Linked DNA regions of Homo sapiens: region 1 is linked to region 2. Evidence: promoter capture Hi-C in 16 types of primary human blood cells and fetal thymus (Javierre and others, 2016). All regions are on one chromosome and are shown on one strand. The core of a region is centred on a gene start or on the middle of the fragment in contact, and the rest is flanking DNA. Distances in the headings are between cores, read along the strand shown. Region 1 holds the start of PAK1 (p21 (RAC1) activated kinase 1). Region 2 holds the start of NARS2 (asparaginyl-tRNA synthetase 2, mitochondrial).

The links. The method cuts DNA at HindIII sites, captures the fragments that hold promoters and counts their contacts. A CHiCAGO score of 5 or more calls a contact.
Region 1: a contact is called between the fragment with the promoter of PAK1 here and the fragment with the promoter of NARS2 in region 2, in 5 of 17 cell types (non-activated CD4 T cells, total CD8 T cells, activated CD4 T cells and 2 more). The highest score is 9.8, in non-activated CD4 T cells.

The regions. Positions count from the first base shown.
Region 1 is chr11:77,470,895-77,476,331 of GRCh38, forward strand. PAK1 (p21 (RAC1) activated kinase 1) reads right to left here and starts at 3,200. Exons shown (of 15, transcript NM_002576.5): 1 at 2,658-3,200. RefSeq lists an enhancer at 2,308-3,224 and silencers at 2,465-2,774, 2,795-2,844, 3,075-3,434. The HindIII fragment of the contact is 2,576 bases long and covers 1,339-3,914 here.
Region 2 is chr11:78,573,536-78,578,757 of GRCh38, forward strand. NARS2 (asparaginyl-tRNA synthetase 2, mitochondrial) reads right to left here and starts at 1,329. Exons shown (of 14, transcript NM_024678.6): 1 at 813-1,329. The coding sequence starts at 953. RefSeq lists enhancers at 715-824, 1,485-1,624. The HindIII fragment of the contact is 10,208 bases long and covers 1-5,222 here.

The DNA of each region.
Region 1 (5,437 bases), core at 1,950-4,449, 1.1 Mb before region 2:
TTGGTTGGAGACACATAAAGGGAAAAGCTCAACCTAAAATGAATCCCCCAAAAATGTTAGGATCCCCTTGGATTTGCACATTGGACCATGATTCCTATTCATTCTGAGAACGGTTCTTGAGTAAAACCCCAATGTCGCAGCTGGCAATACATAGAATTAAATCATCTTACATTATTCATTCAACAAATACTTGAGTGCCTGCTATATGCAGTCACTATTCTAGGCACTAGGATTAAAGCAATGACCAAACTGACAAAACTTCCCAGTCTCAGGAAGCTTTCATTCTATTGGCAAGAGAGGGATGGGATGGGATGGGATGGGATGTCACGCAGTTAAGTGCTACGGAAGAAAAACGGGACAGCAGGAGCTGGCAGGGTGCTGGTTTTTATTAAGAGCAGATCTTTTAACCCAGTGGTTCTCAAACTTTAGCAAGCATCAGAATCATTTAAAGGGCTTATTAAAGAAAAGAAATTCACAGGCTACCAAAAAAAGACAGGCACAAACTCAAGTAATTGCAACAGAGCGCTACAGAAGGCCATAAAAGTGGTATGTACATGAGCCAGAGGATGGAAGAGCAACTCATTCTATGCAGGAAAAGGAGAGACTAAGGGACTGCATCCCAGAGGCCCAACAAGGTCATCTCCACAGGCAGGTAAGGGGTGGAAGGGAAGCATTCCAGGAAGAAAACAGAACATGCAAGAGTGAAGATGAGAGTGGCAGGGGAGCCACAGAAAGTGAGACTGCAAAGGCAGGCAGTGGTCTGATCCCTGAGAGCTTTTTATTCCATGTTACTCTGAAATTTATCTTCAGAATATGAAGAGTCAGGGGTAGGGGGCGCTGATGTGGTAAGGTTTTGTTTTACAGAAATCTTTCTGGATGCACAGTACCTTCCTTTGAGGCACTGCTTCCTTCAAACCTAGCACAGGGACTCAAAACATGTGCTTAGTAAATGTATATTGAATTGAACTGAACAAGCTTTTTACCAAATGCCCTGTTATGGATGAGGCAGGTCACCTTCCCTGCAGGACTCACTTTGGCCAAGAGAAGACTTGTAAAACAGGTCCAGCAGCCTCAATTATTGCACACTACTACCTGTACAACTGGAGTCCCCCAGAGATTAGGGCAGACCTTCATTGTTTACTTGTCTACCTCACCCATTAGACTTTGAGCTCTTTGAAGACAGGGAATATCTTAATAGACTGAATCCCCATAGCCTTAGCAAGAGGCCTGAAACATAGTAGCTCTCCGAACTCCAGTAATGTTGGATAAACGAATTGACTGAATAAGCAAATTTACCAAGGTAGACCCATGAGCTCATGTAGTTAAAGAGTATGGATAAGCTTCAGGGAAAGTATGGGAAGTTTTCAGGGTCAATGTTCCCAAAACCCTTTTTGAAAGGCATAGTTTCTAGTTGAGGTGGGGAGTTTTTATATGCACCTGACTTAGAATTTTCCAAATAGGAACCAAAATGTTGTAAGTGCTGTGGTAGAAATCCCACCGGGCCAATGGGAAGAAATCAGCTCTGTCTGTAAGAGGAGAGACAGGATGGAGGCCAGCAAAGACTTCACAGTGTGGGAATTCTTCAGTGGACTCTTGAAAGCTGAGTCCGGTGCTTGCTACTTGCCCGTTTTGGGGCATAAAACCAAACTTCTGGAGCTTTTAAGGCTGGAAGTGACCTGCTCAAGGTCACACAAGAAGTAGATGAAGCCACAGGGTAAGAGAGATGAGGTATCTGTACTGATAATTCCTACTTTCTCCTGACAGAGTTGAAAGAGAACCCAAAAATGTAGGAGGCAAAATTAAAGATTGTTCTCAGGAACAATTCTTAAAGTCAAGACTAATGAATCTGAATTTTTATTAGTAACCACGGAACTAACCCTTCCCTTCACTGTTCACAGTTTTTGTAACAGTAGAACAATTATCCAAGGGGTTTAAAAACCAAGGACGTTGCTCACAACGCCACACCCACTACTTCTCAAGTATTCTTCCAAAACACTCCCAGTAATGTGTACTGCTGAAATAGGATAGCGAAGGCTACAACAATCATGTCTTTTCAAACGTAATAATGAACATAAAATAACTATAAATCTCCTTCCCCGGTTGTTTTTCACTTCCCAAGTTACAGAATATTCCGGGGTGGGGGAGGGGCTGCGTAAGTCAAGTCCTACCAGCCCTTATTTTTCAGGGAGTAGAACCCTAAAGGTGACTGTCCAAGCCTGGAAGGGGTCATTTATTCCATGCAGAAGGAACTGGGCGCCGCTTTGCTGTGCCTCCTCGTAGCGGGACAGGGTGAGCGCCGCAGGACTGCGAAGTTCGGGACGGACTCGGTCCCGGACCGGTACTCGTGTGGCCTCCCGGCTCCAGCCTGGCCTGGCCCCGCCCCGCCCCTTCCCTCTCCCAGGTCTCTCGAATCGCCCGGCGTCTGAGACCCGCGACCCCGCCGGTACGCGCACAGGGGGCCTTTGTTGGCCCGACGGGAGCGGGCCTCGCGGGGCGCCGCCCGCCTCACCTTACCTGGCGCCTCCTCCCGCCCAGGCGCCCGGCCCCGCAACGCGAAATAAATGGGCCCAGACCCCCACTCCACCCGTCCCCACCCCCGCGCCCCAGCCCTGGCAGCCCGGGACGCGAGGGGTACTGGGCGGTAGGCCCGCTCTCACCTTCCGCGCTCGCTCAGCTCCTCTCGGCTCCTCCTCCTCCTCCCGGCGGTGGGTGCCGCCTAGCCGGGAGTGAGGGCGCGAGTGTGCGCGAGCTACCGCTTCACTTTCTCCCTCCTGCCGCCGCCGCCGCGCTGCCCGTGGCGGGGCTCCCCTCAGGACAGGGGAACTGCGAGGGAAGGGATGATGGGGGGGCGGGAGGGAGCGAGGCGACGCGGGCGGGGGGGGAAGGGGGGACTGAGGGGCGAGGTGCGAAGGGCTCAGATGGCCTCTGAGGCAGGAGGTGGTAACTGGATGCGGAGACCAGGTTCCTCGAGGGGGCTCACGAAAGCGCGGGGCTCCGTGGAAAAGGGAATGAGAGTCCAAGGGGGAAGGCGTCTGTGGGGGAGGACTGCAGAGCCTGTGAGGGAAGCGCGATGGGCGAGCGAGGGGGCGGGAGCGTGTGGGGGAAGCCGTGAGGGGGCGTCTACTGTGCAGCCACCACCTTCGGCTCCGGCTGCAGCCGCGGGAGGGCAGCCTCCCCCGCCCACAGCCGCGCTATTGTACGCCGCCCGGCAGGCCTGACCGCCTAGTTCACTGGCTCCCCTACTCCTCCTCCTCCCGCCTCCTCCTCCCCTCTGCCCTTTCCCCTTCTCCCCCTCCCCCTCCCCCACTCCCCCTCCCCGGCGCGGCGGCGGCGGCTGCGGCTCCGGTGGAGCCGTGCCCGCCCCGCCTCCCGCAGGTGAGAGGGGGCGGGGAGGGCCTGACCGACCCGTGGGAGCGAGGCCAAACCCTGGCCCGCATGAGGGCGAACGCCTGGGATTACGTCATCGGCGCGTGACGCCAGAGGCTGGGGAATCACCCGCTTGCTGCGTGACGTCATCGCGTCGCGTCACTGTTCTCGGTCCGCTGTCCGTGGCGGGTTGTTTCCGTGCAGCCTTTCTATCAGACAATTTTGGGACGATTTCTGGGAGGGCTACTGTAGTAGTCAGGATGGAGAAAGACGGCTAACTTCCGGCGCTGAGGGTCCTTTTCAGGTTAACAAAGCACCACCGCATCTATGAGCTCGTTGTCAAGGGCTGAATTTGAAAACTATCCGATGTCGTGTGATCTCACAGCCAGACATGTATTATGTTTTCTTTCTGTGGGAGAGGGGGCAGGGGTGGGAGGAAGACAAAGAAATTATAACGGAGATGTTTGAACTAATGTGAACTGACATACGAAAAGAATGGGCTTCCTTTCACGTTTTTTCCCCTACCGTGGAGGGTACTTTCGACCCAAAGCTTTCTTTCTCCTGAGCTCAGATTGTGTATTTCCCAATACCTCCCGAGCAGCATTACCTGCATACTCTTCGTACCTCAGATTCAACATGTGCGAAACTGAGACAGCATTAGAAAGGCTAAGAGTCCGGAATCAGGTTGCCTTGCTTGAAATCCTAGCTATTCAAATATTAGTGATAGGACCTTGACATTTCTAAGCCGTAATTTTTCTGTAATAATAAGTAGTACCTTAACTAGGTCTTCCTAAGCCTCAGTTTTACCATGGTAATAGTAACAAGCCCTTTAGAATGTTGGCTATTATTATTATTTCCCCCCCAAAATTGCTTCTTACGTTCCTTTCCGTTCTCAATGAATGGGCCACCCATTCAACAATCCCCTAAGCCAGGAACCTAGACATACTAATAGCTCCCCGTTCTTCCTCTCTCAACATCCATATCAAGTTGGACACCAAGTCTTGTAGCTTCTCCTAAATATTTTTCAAGTCCTTGCCTGTGTCGTCTTCTACTACCACCACCTGAACAACTGGAGCAACCTTTAGTCTCTTCAAACTCAATCTATTTTTCTCACTAGTTACCTGAGTAGCCTTATAAAAGCACAAATCTGATGATGTCCTCCCGTTTAAACACCGAAAGGATTTTATTGCTTTCAGGATAAAGTTCAAACTCCTGAACTTGGCACTTTATTACCTGACTGCTTACACTAGCCTTTCTAGCTTTGTCTCACATCATTTATTTTTTGCTCCAAGCACACTGAAATATTAACGTTATTTGAATACACATTTCTTCATGTCTTCAAGCTCTTCCCTACTTAGCTGACTGGCCAACACCTATTCATTGTACAAAGCTGAGCTCAAATGTCATTCATATTCATATTCATATTCATTTGACTAATATTTCTAAAGTTTCCCTAAGCCTTAACAAAACTGTAATTCTATAGTATTTCTATGCCTTTTATGGAAGTAACTGCATTTGTGTATCTAATTTCTTGAGTTCCAAGTCATATTCCTTTCCATATCCTCAGCACCTAAAACAGTGCTTGACATATACCTAAGTATCAATATGTTGTTAAAATATATTTAATAAGGCCAGGCGCGGTGGCTCACGCCTGTAATCCCAGCACTTGGGAGGCCAAGGCAGCCAGATCACCTGAGGTCAGAAGTTTGAGACCAGCCTGGCCAATATGGCGAAACCCCATCTCTACTAAAATACAAAAATTAGCCGGGCGTAGTGGCAGGCACCTGTAATCCCAGCTACTCAGGAGGCTGAGGCAGGAGAATTGCTTAAACCCAGGAGGCGGTGGTTGTAGGAAGCTGTGATTGCACCACCACACTCCAGCCTGGGTGACAAGAGCAAAACTCTGTCTCAAAAAAAATGTATTTAATAAATGTTCCTATTGTTCTTTCTATGTGCCAGGTACTGTTCTGAGCACTTTACAAACACTGTCTTTAAACCTCTACCCTCTACGGTAGATACTGTTGTTATCCTCACCCATCTTATTGATGCGGGAACTGAGGCACAGAGGGGT
Region 2 (5,222 bases), core at 79-2,578:
AAAAAATAAATAACCACATCAGTGTACTTCAGCAACCTAATAAGAAACAGTCAAACACCTTGTTTATTCTGCACCTCTTCTATGTGGAGCTGCTGCAAATAATATAATCAGCAAGAGAAACAATAGCAGCTAACATTTGTAGACTATGAGCCACTGTTCTAAATATCTTACTTCCATTACCTCATTTAATTTTCAGGACTCAGGGACAATTATTATCTCTTTCCATAAGAGGAAAATAAGGTGTAGAACGCATAAACGCTATGCAGAGATTTAAACCTAAGCAGCTTAACTCCAGAGCTCTTTCAAACTGCTACATTCCAGTCTTTCTCCGAATTCATTAAAAATAAATTACATGCAGACCCCCACAATAGGCACTGAGGTCGCTAAAAGTTTAAAAGGCATGGTTTGAACAAGTATTTGCTGTCAGCCATGTGTGAATACAAAGGCAGGTAAGACACGGTTTCTGCTCTCAAGGAGGGAGGTCAAGACAACCACTTTATAAACCTGGATATTCATTATAAGGGATAAAGATAGAGAAAGGGGGCTTGTTCATTTACACTTTTGGTATGATTAACAAGTTTACAGGTAATACCCTGGAATCATGAAAGCAAAGTTCCAGCGCTTTACAGTTATCGGAACAGTTTTGTGAAAAGTAATGGAAATCAGAAAAGTGCAAACCCGCGACGCCTACACTTTCTAACTTTTCCCTGCTGGCGGTTGTGTCTGACCCGACTGTAAAAGAAAAGCTAGATGTGGATGTGCCATATAAAAGTCCCTACAAGAAAAAACCCACTCCCTTCCCATTCACCAACCTGGATCTTAATGCGCTCCCCACTCGCGTTCTGAGCCCCGAGAGCGTCCCGCACGCTCAGTTTGGCTGAAGGTTTGTGCTTGGGGAAGGGGGCGGAGGAACAGAAGCGCACGGACCGCAGCAGGCAGCGGACCCCCAGCATCCCGCGTCCGCCCAGGCCCTCCGCGGGAGCAGCCCAGACCCCACGGTTCGAACCCCGCCTGCAGCGGCCCTCCTTTCTCAGCTGCTCCCCTTCCGCGGCCGCAGCTCTGCTCTAAGGCACTCCAGAGCCCCTCGGCTGCGCGCTTTCTCCTTCAGGACTCCCAGCTCTGTCCCCACAGAACCTCTCCGCTTCCCACTTCCCAACGGGGCGGAATGGACAGGACACTAGGCAAACGCCAGAAAGAAACCACGTGCAGTTGGCAGCTGGGGCGCCCCACTACCCGCGACAATTGTAAACCTACGAACAGAACCCGGGCCGCAACACGCGCAACCACTCCTACCACACCACGCCAACGCCGCTTACGTCATCACGCTACGGGGAAGAAGGGAGAGCATGCGTACTTGTGACCCAGGCTTAGGGAGGCGTGCGGGAGGGGGCGGGGTCAGGAGCCGAGACGGGGCGGAGCTAATGCCCTAAGGTTGTAGAGATTATCGCTGAAAGAACGTGGGAGCACATCTGAGGGTCTTCATTTCTAAAGTTTCCAGGTGAGGCTGAGAAACTGAGAGGCAAGGAGTGACTGATGGAGAGGGAAACCGTCTCCATCAGTCAACAATAGGGATCCAAGTAAGAGGAGGCTCTTAGCTGTTAACAGGATTCGCTTGAAGAGATCAGTCGTTCCTTTCCTGAGTACTCCGCAGAGAAAAATCAGACATAGCCCCAATGCGCAAGTCACAGTTGTGTGGTATCAGACAGCTAAACAGACAGTTGCATAAAAGGGCGATCAGTTTGCCTGACAGAGCCTAAGCGTGGGACGCCAGAGATGGCTTCCTGGAGAAAGTAGTCCTCTGACAGGTAAATAAAAGGAACTGGAGGGACCTTGCATATGGCAGGCAAGACGGTGGGAAGATGTTGCAGAGACTGGAGGAAACTCGAGTGTTTCCTGCCAGAATCCTCCAAGTCTCCCTCTTCCCTCTGCCCTCCAACACAGCTATCTGCATTTGTTTGACCTGGAAACAATGACCCTTTTATATATTAGGCTACGTTTTATTAAAAAAAAAATTCTGTAACTCAATGACGGTCATTAAAAGGTTTTTAATCTAATTTAAAAAGTAAAACGTTTGGCCAAGTGCGGTGGCTCACGCCTGTAATCCCAACTCTTAGGGAGGCAGAAGCAGGAGGATTGCTTCAGCCCAGGAGTTCAAGACCAGCGCTCGCCCTCGCTGTCTCTCTCCCGCTCCCTCTCACTCTCACTCTCTCTCTCTCACTTTTACCTTACTTAAAGTTGCTACTATTATTATACCCATTTTACAAATGAGAGAACTTACGCACAGAAAGGCTAGATGACCTACTTAAGGATACACATTCCCTAAGTGTGAGATTTAAACCCAGAAGTGCTGGCTCTATGCACTTAAGCAGTATGCTGTATTACATAGTGTCCCAAGGTGATCTGTTCCATCAAGGAGCTCATGCTTTAGAGATGGAGACAAGCAAGAAAAGAGACTACTGAAATATAAACCAGTAAGTGCACACATAGATGTATGAGTTGTCTGCATTTGTTTGGACTGAAAAGTCACCCTTATATATTAGGCTACCTCTTAAATTTATCCAAAAAATTATTTTTGATATTTTATCCAAATATTATATTGGATAAAATATAATACAATTATAATATATACATGTATCACAATTTTATATTTTATATAATATAAATGTGTTCCCTGGTTCTTTTAATAAATTAAAATTATAAATATAATAAAATTATAATTATAAATTATAATATATAATTAAATTATATTGGATATATTATATATTATATACTTATAATATAAAATATGTTGGATAAAATATAATATAGTCTAGAGAAGGAGAAAATTAAGCTGAATTTTTGAAGTGGATCAATATTTTGCCAGGTAGGCATGTAAGAAAATTTCCTGCCAGAAGGTGAACACGGAAGGTTGCCAGGAGGGCAAATGGCCTGGAAAAATTGTAAAATCATTCTTAAGACAGGCTAGAAAATATCTCATCTGAAAATACTTGATGTTGGAGGTGGAACCTAGTGAGAAGTGTTTGGATCATGAAGGCCTTGGTGCCACCCTTGCAGGAGTGAATTCTCAGTCCATTAGTTTTTGCAAAGCTGATTGTTGAAAAGAGCCTGGCACCCCCCTCCCTCTCTCTTCCTTCCTCTTTTGCCATGTGATGTTTGCTCCCCTTTGCCTTCCTGAATGGCTGAATGACAACAAACCTTGACATTATTTACTTTGAGTGGAAGCAGATTCTGGTGCGATGCTTCTTGCACAGCCTGCAGAACTGTGCAAATAAATGAATACACTTCTTATCGATCAAAAAAAATATATAGGCCAGGCGCAGTGGCTCACGCCTGTAATCCTAGCACTTTGGGAGGCCAAGGTGGGCAGACTGCCTGAGCTCAGCCTGGGCAACATGGTGAAACCCTATCTCTACTAAAATATAAAAAATTAGCTGGATGTGGCAGCATGTGCCTGTAGTCCCAGCTACTCGGGAGGCTGACGCAGGAGAATTGCCTGAACCTGGGAGGCAGAGGTTGCGGTAAGCTGAGATCACGTCACTGCACTCCAGCCTCAGCAACTGAGTGAGACTCTGTCTCAAAAAAAAAAAGAAAAAGAAAAGAAAAGAAAAGAAAAAAATACTTGGGCACTTCTTGAACCTTGAGAAAGGAAAAATGGAAACTTGCAGCCAATGCCTTCAGAATTATGCAGCTATGGACTTTTAAGGGAAAAAAAGTTCGCTCGTTCAAAATCTGGGGAACAAGACAGTCTGGGGTACATAACAATGATGTTTATCCCAGTGAAAATCTTTTCTTTGCCTATGCCTACCCTGTCCAAGTGATCAAAAGTAGTAACCAGTTGGCTCATTTCTTACTCATGCCATTTTTCTGTCTTGCCTTCTGCTATGGCTTGGATATGATTTGTTTGTCCCCACAAAAACTCATGTTGAAATTTAATCCCTGATGTGGTGGTGTTGGGAGATGAGGCCTAATGGAAGTGGTCTGGTGTATGGGAGCAGATCCCTCATGAGTGGCTTGGTGCTGTTTCCGTGGACTGCATGAGTTCTTGCAAGAATGGGCTTGTTTCCACCACAGTAGGTTGTTATAAGGCCAGGATGCCCCTCAGGGGTTCCCCTTTTTGCACATGTCCACTTCCCCTTTGACCTTCTTCACCACGTTGTGATGCAGCACGAAAGCCCTCACCAGAAGCCAGGGCCATGCCCTTGAACTTCTCATCGTGTAGAACCATGAGCTAAATAAACCTCTTTTCTTTATAAATTGCCCAGTGTCAGGTATTCCTTTACAGCAACATAAAATGGGCTAAGGCACCTTCTTTCTCTCCCAACTCCCCTACTCCAGGGAACAATGTGCAGCTTAAGAACTGGAGTCTGAGTCCCAGGGAGTGAGGCTCCTGCCTTCCTTTACCCTCTCACTACTTGTTTAAGCCAAAAGGTTAATTATGTTCTTAGCAGGGGACCACTGCCCCAGTATGTTGAAGACAAGAGAAAAAGTTTACTATACAACTTACGCTTCTGGTGCTCAGTTCAAACCATCCCCTGTATCTTGTGCTATATCAAATCACATCATCTTCTTGTTTATTTTTGTTTTCAGTGTTGGCTTGACACCTTCCCTTTTAGATTCATCACCTTCCAGACAGGAGTGCAAATGATGTTTTTAATATGAATATATAGTTGACCCTTGAACAACATGGGTTTCAGTTGTGCCGGTCCACTTGTATGTGAATTTTTTTCAATAAATATATTGGAAAATTTCTTGGAGATTTGTGACAATTTCAGAAAACTTACTAATGACCTGTGTAGCCTAGAAATATCAAAGCATTTAATAAAAAGGTCATGAATTCACAAGATACATGTAGTTACTAGTCTATTTTATCATTTACTATCATAAAATATACATAAGTCTATGACAAAAAGTTAAAATTGGCTGGGCGCAGTGGCTCATGCCTGTAATCCCAGCACTTTGGGAGGCCGAGGCATGCAGATCACTTGAGGCCAGGAGTTCAAGACCAGCCTGGCCAACATGGCGAAACCCCATCTCTACTAAAAATACAAAAATTAGACAGGCATCGGCCAGATGCGGTGGCTCATGCCTGTAATCCCAGAACTTTGGGAGGCTGAAGTGGGTGGATCACCTGAGGTCAGGAGTTCGAGACCAGACTGGCCAACATGGTGAAATCCCGTCTCTACTAAAAATACAAAAACCAGCCAGGTGTGGTTGCAGGTGCC